5 separate regions of the Homo sapiens genome follow, and all the other regions are linked to region 2. The links are contacts of gene promoters, found by promoter capture Hi-C in blood cells and fetal thymus (Javierre and others, 2016). All regions are on one chromosome and are shown on one strand. Each heading gives the region's core, a stretch centred on a gene start or on the middle of the fragment in contact. The rest is flanking DNA. Distances are from core to core; before and after follow the strand shown. Region 1 overlaps ST6GAL1 (ST6 beta-galactoside alpha-2,6-sialyltransferase 1). Region 2 holds the start of EIF4A2 (eukaryotic translation initiation factor 4A2). Region 3 has its middle 25 kb from the start of RPL39L. Region 4 has its middle 43 kb from the start of RPL39L. Region 5 overlaps RPL39L (ribosomal protein L39 like).

What was found. Contacts are between HindIII fragments. The CHiCAGO score rates a contact against its expected background, and 5 or more counts as called.
Region 1: a fragment that was not itself captured here is called in contact with the fragment with the promoter of EIF4A2 in region 2 in 2 of 17 cell types (activated CD4 T cells and total CD4 T cells); the score reaches 5.4 in activated CD4 T cells.
Region 3: a contact is called between a fragment that was not itself captured here and the fragment with the promoter of EIF4A2 in region 2, in 1 of 17 cell types (total B cells). The highest score is 5.2, in total B cells.
Region 4: a fragment that was not itself captured here is called in contact with the fragment with the promoter of EIF4A2 in region 2 in 1 of 17 cell types (total CD4 T cells); the score reaches 5.1 in total CD4 T cells.
Region 5: a fragment that was not itself captured here is called in contact with the fragment with the promoter of EIF4A2 in region 2 in 3 of 17 cell types (naive CD8 T cells, activated CD4 T cells and non-activated CD4 T cells); the score reaches 6.6 in naive CD8 T cells.

What each region holds. Positions count from the first base shown.
Region 1 is chr3:187,038,948-187,041,647 of GRCh38, forward strand. The region is part of intron 3 of ST6GAL1 (ST6 beta-galactoside alpha-2,6-sialyltransferase 1); the gene reads left to right. Among named protein-coding and RNA genes, the nearest start is that of RPL39L, 99 kb to the right of the region's middle. The HindIII fragment of the contact is 1,118 bases long and covers 692-1,809 here.
Region 2 is chr3:186,782,232-186,784,931 of GRCh38, forward strand. EIF4A2 (eukaryotic translation initiation factor 4A2) reads left to right here and starts at 1,346. Exons shown (of 11, transcript NM_001967.4): 1 at 1,346-1,408; 2 at 2,201-2,246; 3 at 2,333-2,465. The coding sequence starts at 1,380. SNORD2 (small nucleolar RNA, C/D box 2) reads left to right here and starts at 2,565; the gene lies at 2,565-2,634. RefSeq lists an enhancer at 2,022-2,251. The HindIII fragment of the contact is 20,029 bases long and covers 1-1,546 here.
Region 3 is chr3:187,112,872-187,115,571 of GRCh38, forward strand. No RefSeq gene overlaps it. Among named protein-coding and RNA genes, the nearest start is that of RPL39L, 25 kb to the right of the region's middle. The HindIII fragment of the contact is 1,384 bases long and covers 610-1,993 here.
Region 4 is chr3:187,094,879-187,097,578 of GRCh38, forward strand. No RefSeq gene overlaps it. Among named protein-coding and RNA genes, the nearest start is that of RPL39L, 43 kb to the right of the region's middle. The HindIII fragment of the contact is 1,128 bases long and covers 810-1,937 here.
Region 5 is chr3:187,134,195-187,136,894 of GRCh38, forward strand. All of the region lies in intron 1 of RPL39L (ribosomal protein L39 like), which reads right to left. Among named protein-coding and RNA genes, the nearest start is that of RPL39L, 4.0 kb to the right of the region's middle. The HindIII fragment of the contact is 1,081 bases long and covers 881-1,961 here.

The sequences.
Region 1 (2,700 bases), core at 1-2,500, 260 kb after region 2:
GCAGGGAATCTCAGGATCTCAGTATCTGGCTCCAGCTTTGCTGTTTTCTTTTTGTATGTATTTTTTAGTCCTCTTTAACTGCTGATTCAATGTGGGTTTCATTGGGGGGTGTAGAGAAATGGCTTGTCCATTTCTATTAACTATATAAGATTTAAGTTATTCTGTATTTCAGTCAACCATTCTGAGTACCTACTACCTGCCACGAATGCAACTGGTACTGAGTATGTCATGACGGGTGGGTCGGGACAGGATTTCCTTGCTTTGAGCATTGATTTCTGCCGGTTCAGTGTTGGCCAGTTCTTTGAAGGTGATGATGCAAGTCGCTGTGTTCTTCCTCTAGAAGCCTCGTGATGATTGTAAAGATTCTCTGATACAATTGCATCAGTTCAATAATCTTTCATTGAGTATCCGCTCTGGTCCAGGCACTGTGCTGGGTACTAGGGTTTCAGAAAGGATACCAGGAGGAGTTTTCCTTGAGCAGCAAAGTCAGGCATGAAAAGCAAGCATTACAAAGCACTGGCTGGCAGCAAAGGGGAGCAGGGATAGTGCGGAAGGGGAGGTGGCCTCCACTGACCTTCAGAAGCAGAAAGGTGATGCTGTCAGAGCTGGCAGGCACATGGACAAGGAGAAAGAGTGCAGCAGTGCAGACACCTGGAGGCTTAACACAGTCTGGTGTAATTGGAAAATTCAAAGCTTAGTGTGTTTTTCCAAAACATTTGTAGAGAAAAGTTTGCTACTCTTTTCCCTCGGTTGCGCCATTTAGAGAAAGTTTCTTCAGCCTCTGCCTTCTTCAGACAATTTGAGAGATGAGAAAGGGTCTTGCAGTTATAAGTGCCTGTGACCAGAAACTCCAGCCACCTGGTGGACTTGGAGCCTCAACCAAGGGTGGTGTCAAGGGACCACATGAGCCCTTATGTGAGATTTCAGATGAGTGCCCTGAGGCCATGACAGAGCACAGGCTGTGAAGGCTGAGGCTGTCTGATGGTTGCAAGACTGTCGCTAGACCCAGCTGTTTGGAGGAACTCTTCTTTCCTGGGAAACCACACCTTGGAGAGTAGGTACTGGGCAGCTGCTGCCTGAGCCTCCACTCCTGTGACAGTGAATCAGGCCCTTCCTGCCATCTTGTTTCATTCAGACATGTGAAAGTCAGGTTCTAAGTCCACTATTTCCAAATCACTCATGCAACTTTGAAAATTATTTGTATTTCCAAACCTCACTATACTCAGCTATAAATGGAGCTCATAAAATCTGCTGTGCTTATCTCACGGGAGTATAATAGGTCTGTAAAACCTTACCAATACGGAAAGTACCTGAGTGTTACCACTCAGTGCACAGCAGGGATGGCAGGTGCAGCACTGATGGTGAAGGTGGCTTGTCTGCGACTGTCTGACAGACGAAGTTGCCTCTCTAGTGACCTTGAGTCCGACTTGATCACACTGACTTCTCACTGTCCCTTATCACAGATGCATGTCCTTGGGTGGAAAGATGATGAACTTTTAGAGTCAGACAGACCTGGGCTGGAATTCTGGTTCTAGAACTGACTTGCTGTTGACATTGGAGAAACCCTATAACCTTGCTAAGTCTCAGTTTTTTCCATTTCCTAAAATAGGATTGTCAATATCTCTATCATAGTGTTGTAGTAAAGGTTCAATGAGATATTGCAAGGAAAGTGACTACCACGTAGTAGGCCCTCCTTAAATGCTACTTTCCTTCTTTTCTCTAGTTCTTCTTCAGTTGTCATATGGTCATGTGATTACCTGTGTTGGGTGTCTGCGGAAATTGAATTCCTTAGTTTCTGGTAATACAACAAGCTTCCACCCTTCACTTCATGATCTTCTATCTGAATTCTTCTTCCACTGTGTACATTTAATCATTTCCACAACTTCAGCAGCCCAAGATAGGAGCCCATCGTTCCCAGAGTCACTGGTTCCTGAGGTCTGGGATGGTGGAAGCACTGCTTTGGTTGGTACTGCCAATGGATTCCAGGAATGAGCTGGATGTCAGTTCATGGAGAATTCCCAGGGAAGAGCCTGGAGCTCAGGGCTGCTGAGTCATGGCTGTGGCTTCACACTGCTGTCTTCACTACCCGTATCACCTCCACATGGCCCCCAGGCTGAGCTGCTGCTCTCCTGTCTCTGTTCAGAATACCTTCTGTGCCTTTTTGCTTATCTAGTTCAAATCCAATGAATACCATGCTCTTGTTTTGCCCTCCCAACACTCTGCAAATCACATAGGGCAGAGATAATTATTCTGAAAAACTCAGGGGCAGAAATATTAAGTGACCTGCCCAAGGTCACCAAGAATGGGGATAAGAACCCAGGTTTTGTGAACACCCAGTCCAGTACTCCTACTACCTTTTCCTGATATCCTTAGGAGCGGGATCCATGGGAAGGGACCTCAGACCCCTAGTGGGTTAGCAAAACCCCGGAGGTGATTGCTTTGATTTATTATTGTAAATAAACCCAGTGATTGGGGAAAGAATGTAATGTTTTCCAAAAGATACAGACATTATTTGAGTTCAAAGTGCTTCCAGTTTCCATTCAGTTACACAATAAATTCTGAGAAAACAAAGTAGGTGTTTACTCAGAAATAAAGAGACTATTCAGTCTCTATTTGCTCAGTGAAATCTATTTTCCAGAGCTTCTTGCAGTTCTGTGCATGTTGTACTGGAAAGGACATGGGTTATGGAATCAAATCCAC
Region 2 (2,700 bases), core at 96-2,595:
AGTACCACTGGACTGAGGGCCTGGCCCACTTTGCCATCTTGGTATTCTTAATCTTTGTCCTAGTTCCTGGCACGATAAGAATTTTCAAATAAATAAATAATTTTTGTATTAAAAAAGTAGTATTTAGAACCGAATATCTTCTATAATATAGAAAATTGAGTCAGCTTTCCCAGTAATGATTCTTTAAGTTGGCCTTCTGAAATATGAGAAAATGTTACCCTGATAGTCTCGATGATATTTTGCACCATGGGTAGGGTTGTATTTTAAAGTTAAATGACTACATATATTGTTTTTTGTTTTTGTCGAGAGACCTGAGATGGGGCTAATTGAAAACGTCTGGAGCTTAAAGACCCGTGCAGTTTACGCAGCAAGGATATTATTGCTCTGAATTTCAATAAATCAACATTTCACTATATATCGGCAAAGTCTACAGCCTTTAAAAAATGACCAATATAGACGGAATCAAAACCGATGTAGTCCCAAAGCGGCACAGAGCTGTATCTGCCAAAGCGTCCATTTAAATTCGTGCGTTCCAAGGAAAATTACTGCTTAGTTTCTATCCATTTGCAAAAGTTTATGATTTTTTTCAGGCATTCCTCACACCTGTTAGGTTAAAATCAGTAACACTCTTAAAAAGAAAGCGAGAGACCGGAAATGATATGAGAATAGAATTGGCCACTCCAGAGACATCTGCAAATGACACTCCATTTTTCCTTCTCGCGCTGCAAAATGTACCGGTAAACCGGACTTCCCGGGACTCGCTGGGTGGCCGACATTTTCCCTAGCAGGAATTTTACGTTTCCAAGATCTGAATGGATGTTAACGGTCGGGCTAAATGCCAGGCAGGTCTTCATTGTGGAATTAAACAGCGGTGGGAGCAAGCGGAATAACCGAGTTCCCCTCCCGCACCTGAGTGCCGGCAGCGAGCCGCGAGCCGGGACCTGTCACCCGCGGGAAGCCCCGGCCGCCCGACGAACAGCATCTCCGGTTTCCGCCTCCGGCTCCGGCGCGGCTCCCCCGGCCCGCCTCTGCGTCAGGGACGCGGAAACCCCGTAGGAGCAGGGCGGGCGGGGAAAGCGAGGTTTAACTAACTCCGCAGCTATATTCTTCCGCCGCGAGGTAAAGAGTCCCAACCCAACCCCGGGCCCTAGGATTTCCAGCGACCCTGTAATATCGAGAAATTACCACATTTGGGTTTTTCTACCAACTTGCTTAGGATTTTATCCGAGGTAACGACCCCAGGATCACAATTTTGTAGCTGACCGAAGCACGGCGAGAAAATTCCTCCGCAAGAAACGGGTTCCGGCCACGAGCCTATAAAAAACGGGTGGTTGGGCGCCGCTGTCTTTTCAGTCGGGCGCTGAGTGGTTTTTCGGATCATGTCTGGTGGCTCCGCGGATTATAACAGGTATGCAGTCTGTTGGCGGTCGCGGTCTGTAGTGAAGGTCATAGGGCGCCAGGGGAGATGATAGTGGATGGCACGGAGGCAAAAACTCTAAATTAATGGACGTTTTCTTAGGGTACAGCACTCCTGTGCCCTTCCAGAAGCTTCCATGATGGGTAGGGCCCGGATTGTGGGGAGATAGGACGGTGGTGCGAAAGCAGTGGCTAAAGGGCGTTTTTCCTCTCTAAGACATTACGAAACTTCGGCTGCTTTCCTTCCCAGTGTAGAGCACGGGAAACATGGAGTAAAAAGCCGTGGCGCAGTCCGAGTTCGGTACACTGTAACCAGGACCCGAAGCTTTATTTTCGGTCATCCACACGAGTTGGGGGAGGGTCCTAGGCTTTACTTGGGGAAGGGTTGGAGGCAGCGGTCTCCACTCGGCCACGGCGCGGAGGCGACGGGACAGGACCGGTGCCGGTGAACCGTTGGCATCGCCCTCGCCAGGCCGCTCCGCCCGCGTCAATCACCCGGCTTGCGCATTGTTGGGGGCGGAGTTCGGCGCTCCGAGCTCTCGCGAGACGCTCCGCAGTTGAAACGGGATCGCCATGCGCTCGGGCCTGGGGGGCTGCCTTTCCGGGCATCCGCAGGCCCCAACCTTTAGGGAAGGCGCACAGTGTGGATATTCGCCCTGAGGCTGCTGCTTTAGCTTGTGCAGGGGAGGCTAACGTGCTGAGACGGGTTGCAAAGGGCTATGCGCTTAAGGTGCAGTTGAGGTGGCCTGGAAGGGGTGTCTGACTGCAGTATTCTTGTCAGCAGAGAACATGGCGGCCCAGAGGGAATGGACCCCGATGGTGTCATCGAGGTAAGAAACGGTTGTGGATCTTGAAGCTTTGGAAAGGTGAGTGTGTTCATCTCATTTATGCGTGCATTATTTTTTCTAACTTACAGAGCAACTGGAATGAGATTGTTGATAACTTTGATGATATGAATTTAAAGGAGTCTCTCCTTCGTGGCATCTATGCTTACGGTTTTGAGAAGCCTTCCGCTATTCAGCAGAGAGCTATTATTCCCTGTATTAAAGGTAAAAGAAACTGGCATTTTTAGGAAATTGTTCTACATAGACATGAACCATAAAAGGGAAAGTAACCTCTGGGGGACTAGCACCTGTTTGTATTCCTTAAAGTGAAATGATGGCAATCATCTTTCGGGACTGACCTGAAATGAAGAGAATACTCATTGCTGATCACTTGATTATTTGGGCATAATGTTCCAAATGGAATACATGGTGTGAAGTAGAAGTGACAATTTGATGTGGG
Region 3 (2,700 bases), core at 52-2,551, 330 kb after region 2:
TGGAGGGGAGTCTCTGGGGGCGCTGTCTCTCCTGAACTGGTGATCTCTAACCCTACATTAAACAAGTGTTCTCCTAGAACTTCATTTCATCATCATCTTAGGAATTTCCTTTGCTCCTCTGTGAATCTTGTTCCTTTTTCCCTCACACTGCTTCTTTCTTAGTTTACATCTCCTTGCTTTTGTGGGACATACCAGAACGTGGTTTTTAGAGAGAGAGGGCACATGGGAGGAGGCAGCAGGGTGAAGGTGGGAATGGATGGCTCAGAGGAAACATGCCATATAAGGAAATGTGAAGTTATCACCTGACAGTAATGCAAGGACACCGTGTTGTGTGCTCTTGGAGGTTCTTCCTTCAGAGACAATAAATTTCAACTATACTGGATTTGAAAGGTAAAGCCTTTAAGATAGAGCTTTATATTTTTTGGTGTGCATAACAGGCTTGGATATCTCCTGGAAGACACACTATTCCTCCCCCAAGTACCAAAACACAATCATTAAAGAAGCTGTACTTCACCACATTGACAGAAGAGGGCACCATTAAATGAAGAATCTTGTAAATTAGCCCACATCCACAAAAAGAATTACAAAAAATGGAATAAATCTATGCAAAGCTTCTTAAAGAAAGAGACTCAACACACCTCAAGTGATAAAAATTTTCCACCACTCCAAGGGAGGTAAATACAAAAATGACCATGAAGCAGAGGAAAACTGCAATGCTACACTCCAGACTCAAATAACCTCAAACAAGTATAGACATGTGAAAAGCTATACATATATATACATATATGTGTATATATGTATATATATGTATATATGTGTGTATATATGTATATATTTGAACCTCCCAGGTTCAAACATAAATTTTAGAACTATATTTATTTTTTGAACCTCCCAGGTTCAAGAGATTCTCCTGCCTTAGCCTCCCAAGTAGCTGGGATTACAGGTGGGCGCCATCACACCCAGGGAATTTTTGTATTTTTAGTAGAGACGGGGTTTCACCATGTTGTCCAGACTGGTCTCAAACTCCTAACCTCAAGTGATCCACCTGTCTTGGCCTCCCAGAGTGCTGGGATTACAGGCATGAGCCACTGCGCCTGGCCTGAAAAACTATCTTTAATCAGAAATTAAAATATAAATGGATTTAGAAAAAAATGGGAAGTAATGAACAGTGTGTTGATTGAACTCAGAAAGAAAATAAAAGAAAAAGAAAAATAATCTTAGGATTGAAACATAAATTTTAAGAGGGTACTTATATTGGTTTCCTAGGGCTATCTTAACAGATTACTATAAACTGAGAGCTTGAAACAATAGGAATTTATTTTCCCACAGTTCTGGAGGCCAGAGGTCTCAAATCAAGGGGCTGGCAGGGCTTGTTTCTTCCCGAGGCTCTGAGGGAAGGGTCTGCTCTATCTCTCCTTCATAGCTTCTGGGGGCTGCCAGCAATCCTTGTTGTTCTTTGGTTTATAGATGCGTCACTCTAATCTCCACCTTCCTTCCCACATTACCATCGTTTCTATGTGTCTTCTCTCCTTCTATTCTAAGGATACTTGGAATTGGAATTAGGGCTCAACCAGAAAACCTAGGATGATTTTATCTTGAGATACTTAATTACACCTGCAAAGACCCTTTTTCCAAATAAGATCATATTCCCAGGTTCTGAGTAGACATTTTTGGGGTGTGGGGGTGGGCGTGGTCATCATCACCTCGCTATAGCACCCAAAGGAGAATGTACTCAGATGGAAATTTAATATGGGCACTGAACAAAGGCAAACAAGCAAGAAAATGAAATGAAATAAAGAAGTGAAATGGGTCAGGAAGAAAGTGATTGACAGGGAAGACAGTCCAAAGCAACACTGGTATAACTGGAGTACATGAAGAAGAAATAGCAAACAATGTAACTATCATTTAAAACTATAATTGAACTGTTGAACTGGGTGACAGGGTGAGACCCTGTCCCTAAAAAAACAAAAACAGAACTGTAATAGAAGAAGAAAGCTTTCCAGGAGTAAATACAGGTTTAACTTTAAAAATGCCCAAACTATTCCCTATTTTTTATTCCCACCAGCAATGTATGAGAATTTCAGTTGCTTTGCATCCTTGACAGCACTTGCTATTGTCAACTGTATTCTTTTGCTTTTTTTTTTGTTTATTCATTCTTATAGGTCAATAGTGGTATTTTACTGTAGCTTTATTTTGTATATCCTAAAAATGATGTTAATTGCATATCACTATGAACCTCTTTTAATGTGCTTATTTGCCAACTACATATCATCTATGATGAAGCGTCTGTTCAAATTCTTTGCCTGTTTTATAAATTGTTGTTTCCTTATTATTGAACTTTGATAGTTCTTTTTATAATCTGGATATAAGGCTCTTATTTGATATATGTAGTATACAGAGATATCTAGAGAGAGCAAATATTCTGCTTCTGATGTTACTTTTCATTCTCTTAATGTCTTAAAGAGAAATGATTTTAAATTTAATAAAGTCCAACTTATCAAGTTTTTAATTTTATGAATTGTGTTTTTGTTGTCATATTTAAGACACCTCTGCCTCACCCAAACTTAAGAATATTTCTTTTATGCTGTCTTCTAGAAGCTTTATACCATTAGATTTTACATTTAGGTCTATGATCCCATTAGAGTTTATTTTTGTATATGGTACAAGATATGGATCAAGGTGGGTTTTTTTTTTAACATG
Region 4 (2,700 bases), core at 124-2,623, 310 kb after region 2:
GCTGTAATAGCAATCACTATAGTCTGACTCTCAGGAGGTCTTCCTCTTAGGAAAAGGGGGAGAGTACCACATCACGGGAACACCGTGTGGGACAAAATAATCTGGGTGACAGGCCTTGAGTCCCAGATCATTCCTGTGGGAAAGTTTCTTTCAGCAGAGACACAATTGCAGTACTGGACTCAGCAGGGGACATCTGTGTCTCTATCCAACAGTCAGACAGGCTTGGTGCTCATGAAAGGTCTTAGAGAAAGGGTCCTCTTTCCCCACTTGTCCACCACTGCAGACACAGCTGGGGCTTCTCTCACGGGAACTCTGTGTGGATTCACCTACAGACAGCCTTCCTGGAACACTTCAGGGCAACTGCATCCCCACAGAAGGAGCATTCCCCAGGTTTGGGCTTGCACAAGAAGCAGACTCACAATTTCTCTCTACTTGAAACACCAATATTCCTACAGACAAAAAGAAGTGCCTGTATAATCTGAATAGCTGGAACACTGGGACAGGTGTGAGGCTGGGAGGTGGATAGCTTTTCTGCTGGCCTGGCAGGGGAGCTGAGATAGCTCCCAACCTTCACTCTGATAAGACCTCAGTGCATCTATTTGGGAGCTCCCCAAGCAACCTTAATCAAGGCTGGGATCTCTGCCCACCATTGGGTATTGCATTTACCCACTTGCTTTAGCTACAACCGGTTCCTACCCAGGGATACAATTCCACCCCTACTGTCCTGAAGCTTGAGCCATTAACTCAGTAAATAAAATAATGGAGAAAAAATAAATAAATATGAGTGCACAACACAGGGAAATGAGATAAGCTTCAAAAGACCCCTACCATTCCAATCCCACAGGAGACAATGAACTTGCCTATACCAAGTACATACATACTACAAGTAGCATCTGAGACAGCCATCACACAAAGACTCTCTATAAGCAAGGAATTCTTACAGAATCTTCACTCATAAAAGCACCAAGAACCAAATTCAGCTGTAATAAACTATAAATATTGAAGTCACATCCTTAAGAGAAAAAAAAAGAAATTAAAAAAAATGAAACCAAAAATAAATTCAAGAACAATTACAAGAAATAGTCTACCCAAATGAGAAGGAACCAGAAAAGAGATTCTGGTAATATGACAAAATGGGGTTCTATAATGCCCTGAAAAGATCATACTAGCTCCCCATCTCTGGATCCAAAGCAAGATGAAATCTTTGAAATACCAGATAAGGAATTCAGAAGGTTTATTATTAAGCTGCTCAAGGAGATACTGGAGAAAGGTGAAAACCAACATAAAGAAATTTAAAAATCAATACAGGATGTGGATGAGAAATTTTCCAGAGAGATAGATATAAGGAAAAACTAATCAGAATATCTGGAAATGAAAGACACACTTAGGGAAATAAAAATACAGTGGAAAGTTTCAACAATGAACTAGAACAATAGAAGAAAGAATTTCAGAGCTTGAAGACAAGGCTTTTGAATTAGCCCAATCAGATAAAGATAAAGAATCAAAAGAACAAAGTCTCCAAGAAATATGGGACTACGTAAAATGGCCAAACCTAAGAAGAGTTGTTGTTCCTGAGGGAACAGAGAAGGATAAAAGTTTGGAAAACGTATTTGAAGTAATAATTGAGAAAAAGTTTCCTGGCCTCGCTAGAGATTTAGATATCCAAGTACAGGAAGCTCCTAGAACATCTGAGAAATTAATTGCAAAAAGATCATCACCAAGGCAAAAAGTGATCAGGCTATCTAAAGTTAATATGAAGGAAAGAATTCTAAGAGCTGTGAGACAAAAGCATCAGGTAACCTATAAAGGAAAACATATCAGGCTAATAACAGACTTCTCAGCAGAAACCTTACAAGCTAGAAGAGATTGGGTGTCCTATCTTTAGACCCCTTAAACACAATAATTGTCAGTCAAGAGTTTCGTATCCAGCAAAACTAAGCTTCATAAATTAGAGCAAAATAAAGTCTTTTTCAGACAAACAAATGCTGGGGTTATTTGCCACTACCAAACCAGCACTACAAGAAATGCTAAAAGGTGTTTTAAATTGTGAAAGAAAAGCTTGATATGCACCAAAATAGAACTTCCTGAAAGCATAAAACTATAAGGCCTATAAAATGTAATGAATGTATGAATGTAAATGGCCTAAATGCTCCACTTAAAAGGTACAGAATGGCAGAATGGATTAAAAAAAAACATAAACTAGATATCTTCTGTCTTCAAGAGACTCACCTAACACATAAAAATTCATGTAAACTCAGGGTAAAGGAGTGGAAAAAGATATTCCACACAAATGGAAACCAAAAGTAAGCCAGAGTAGCTATTGTTATATCAGACAAAACAGATTTTAAAGCAACAACAGCCAAACACAAGCAAACAAAATACAAAGAATAACATTATATAATGATAAAAGGATCAGTCCAACAAGAAGATATTACAACCATAAATTTATATGCACCTAACACCAGAGTTCCAAGATTTATGAAACAATCACTACTAAATCAAAGAAATGAGATAGACAGCAACACAGTAATAGTGGGAAATTTCCATACTCCACTGACAGCACTAGAAAGATCACTGAGACAGAAAGTTAACAAAGAAGCAGTGGACTTCAACTATATGCTAGAACAAATGGACTTAACAGATATTTACAGAACATTCTACTCAACTACTGGAGAATATACATTCTTCTTATCAGAACAT
Region 5 (2,700 bases), core at 171-2,670, 350 kb after region 2:
AAAAAATGTTTACATTAAATGAATATGCTTGAAACAGAAAACATAGTAACAGAGATAAAGTAGTCTAAAGCAGTGGTATACAACTAGGGGCAATTCTGCCTTTCTGGAGACATTTGGCAGTATCTGGAGATATTTTTGGTTGTCACCACTGGAGGAGTGCTGCTAGATCTAGAGGGTGGAGGCCAGGGATGCTGCTGAACATCCTATAACGTACAGGTGAGCCTCATACGACAAAGAATTATCCAGCCCAAAATGTCAGTAGTGCCCAAACTACTTTAGCCTGACTGATAAAAAAAAAAAAAAAAAAAGAAGACACAAATTACCAACATCTGCAATGAAAAAGGGGACAATGCTACAGGTCTCAGGACATTAAATGGATAGAATAATATCACAAATTATTGTATGCCCATAAAGTCAACTTAGTCATCGAAGTCTTGTAAGGAAATGGACCGATTCCTTATGAGATGGGTACCACCAAAGCTCATGTAAGTGCATAACCTAAGTAGTTCTATGTCTATTAAAAATGTTGAATTGTGTAGTTAAAAATCTTGTAACAAAACTACAGGCCCAAATGGCTTCACTACCAAAAGCCAGAGATCAGGACAAGACCAAGCCTTTCTCAGTGCCAGGAGGAATGCTTGAGCTTCAACTCCCAGTTCCCACCTCTGTTATGCTTCCAGGGATTCCCAAATATTTTGCATTCTGTGGTGTTCACACCTCAATTCTATCTCACAGTGCTGACCTGATCAGTTGAAAGGTGCTGTTGCACGTAAGAGTGACCTTTGCATGTTGGGTGAAAGGGAAGCCTCAGAAAGGCAGTAATTTGAGCCAGTGGTAGACATTCTTTCCCAACTCAACTTGCCAAGGCTTTTTCGCTTAAAGCTTTCTTAAATTCTTAAGAAATTACATGGCTGTGTGATGGTAGATCCTCCCACCCTGATGGGGCAATCTCATTTCAGTCACCTGCAGGTGTCTACTGGGGTGGAGATCCAGCTTCTAAGGCTTTGTCAAATACTGTGGCTCCTGAGGCAAAGCAGTTCAGAAGCATAGCTGAGACTGAGCCTCATGATGGGACGGTAATATCGTTTGGCTGTGTCCCCACCCAAATCTCATCTTGAATTGTAACTTCCACAACTCCCACGTGTCGTGGGAGGAACCCAGTGGGAGGTGATTGAATCATGAGGGCGGGTCTTTCCCGTGCTGTTCTTGTGATAGTGAATAAGTCTCATGAGCTCTGATGGCTTTAAAAATGGAAGTCTCCCTGCACAAGCTCTCTGTTTGCCTGCTGTCATCCATGTAAGATGTGACTTGCTCCTCCTTGCTTTCTGCCATAATTGTGAGGCCTCCCCAGCCATGTGGTACCGTAAGCGCAATAAACCTCCTTCTTTTGTAAATTGCCCAGTCTCGGGTATGTCTTTATCAGCAGCATGAAAGACTAATACAGACGGGTAAGCAGTGAATAGGCAAAACACACTCGTGGGTGAGGTAGCTCACAAACAGCCTTATCTTTCCAAAGGAAGACATAAACCAAGTGTGTTGATCCATTTTGCCTTGCTATAAAGGAATACCTGAGGCTGGGCAACTTATAACGAGTTTTATTTGGCTTATGGTTTTGCAGGTGGTACAAGCATGGCACCAGCATCTGCTAGGCATCTGATGCTTTAACTCTTGGTAGAAGGTGTAGGAGGAGCAGGCATGCCGCATGGCGAGAGACAGAGCAAGAGAGATGCCAGGTTCTTTTGAACAATTGGCACTCATGTGAACTAACAGACTAAGAACTCTTTCCATGGAACTAGAGGCTCTAGGAGGACTGGATTAGGACTGCATCCAGTACACACTGATGTAAAGCTAACATCTTCCCTCATCACACTGCTTTTGAGAGCCATTCAAAACACTAAAGATCGAGATATTGGAGTCTGCCCATTTTATATTCCATAACTAATGGAGACTGCTCAAGTGAAAGCTTAAATTTACAGGTAATTTTCTGTCCCTATCTACACTTCAGACTAGAGCATCGGCAATTTCTTCACTAAAGCTAATTACTTTTTAAAGTGGTGTGACTGACAAAAAGAAGTCAGCCCAAGGATGCTGCAGTGCCAGAGTTTGTAACAATATAATTAGGAGTGAAGGTTGGTGAGGTGACCACCCTCCCTGATGACATCTTTCTTCCTTTCTCTATAGTTTTACAGTTCACTTATGCAAAACTGGACAATCAAACAGCCAAAGCAGTAGAGATAGGTCTGCCAGCAACTGAGTTGGTTCTAATGCAACAGCTGAGGGAAGTTTGAGCCTTTCTCTGCAGCCCTAGACCATCTGTAATTAGGCTGTGGTTCTTTAACTGCCAAGGCCTTTGAGTTAAGCTGGGTTAGTAAGGTTGTTTGATATGGATCGCATAGGATAAGAGTAGGTAGTGGTATTTTCTGGGAGATAAGAGTCAATGTGAGTAGTTTTTTGGGTGGGGTGGGTGGTGGGGAAGGCAGTTTTTCTGAACATTATAAGAAGTTTCCAATATCTCAAAACTTTTGTAATAGTGTTTTCCCAAAGAAATATAATGTGAGCCCCACATATAGTTACAATTTAAAATTTTCTGAGTCATGTTAAAAAATAAATAGGAACAGGTAAAATTAATTTGAATATATTTTATTTAATCTGATTTATTTAAAATACCATTTAAGCATGTAATTAATATAAAGGTGGATA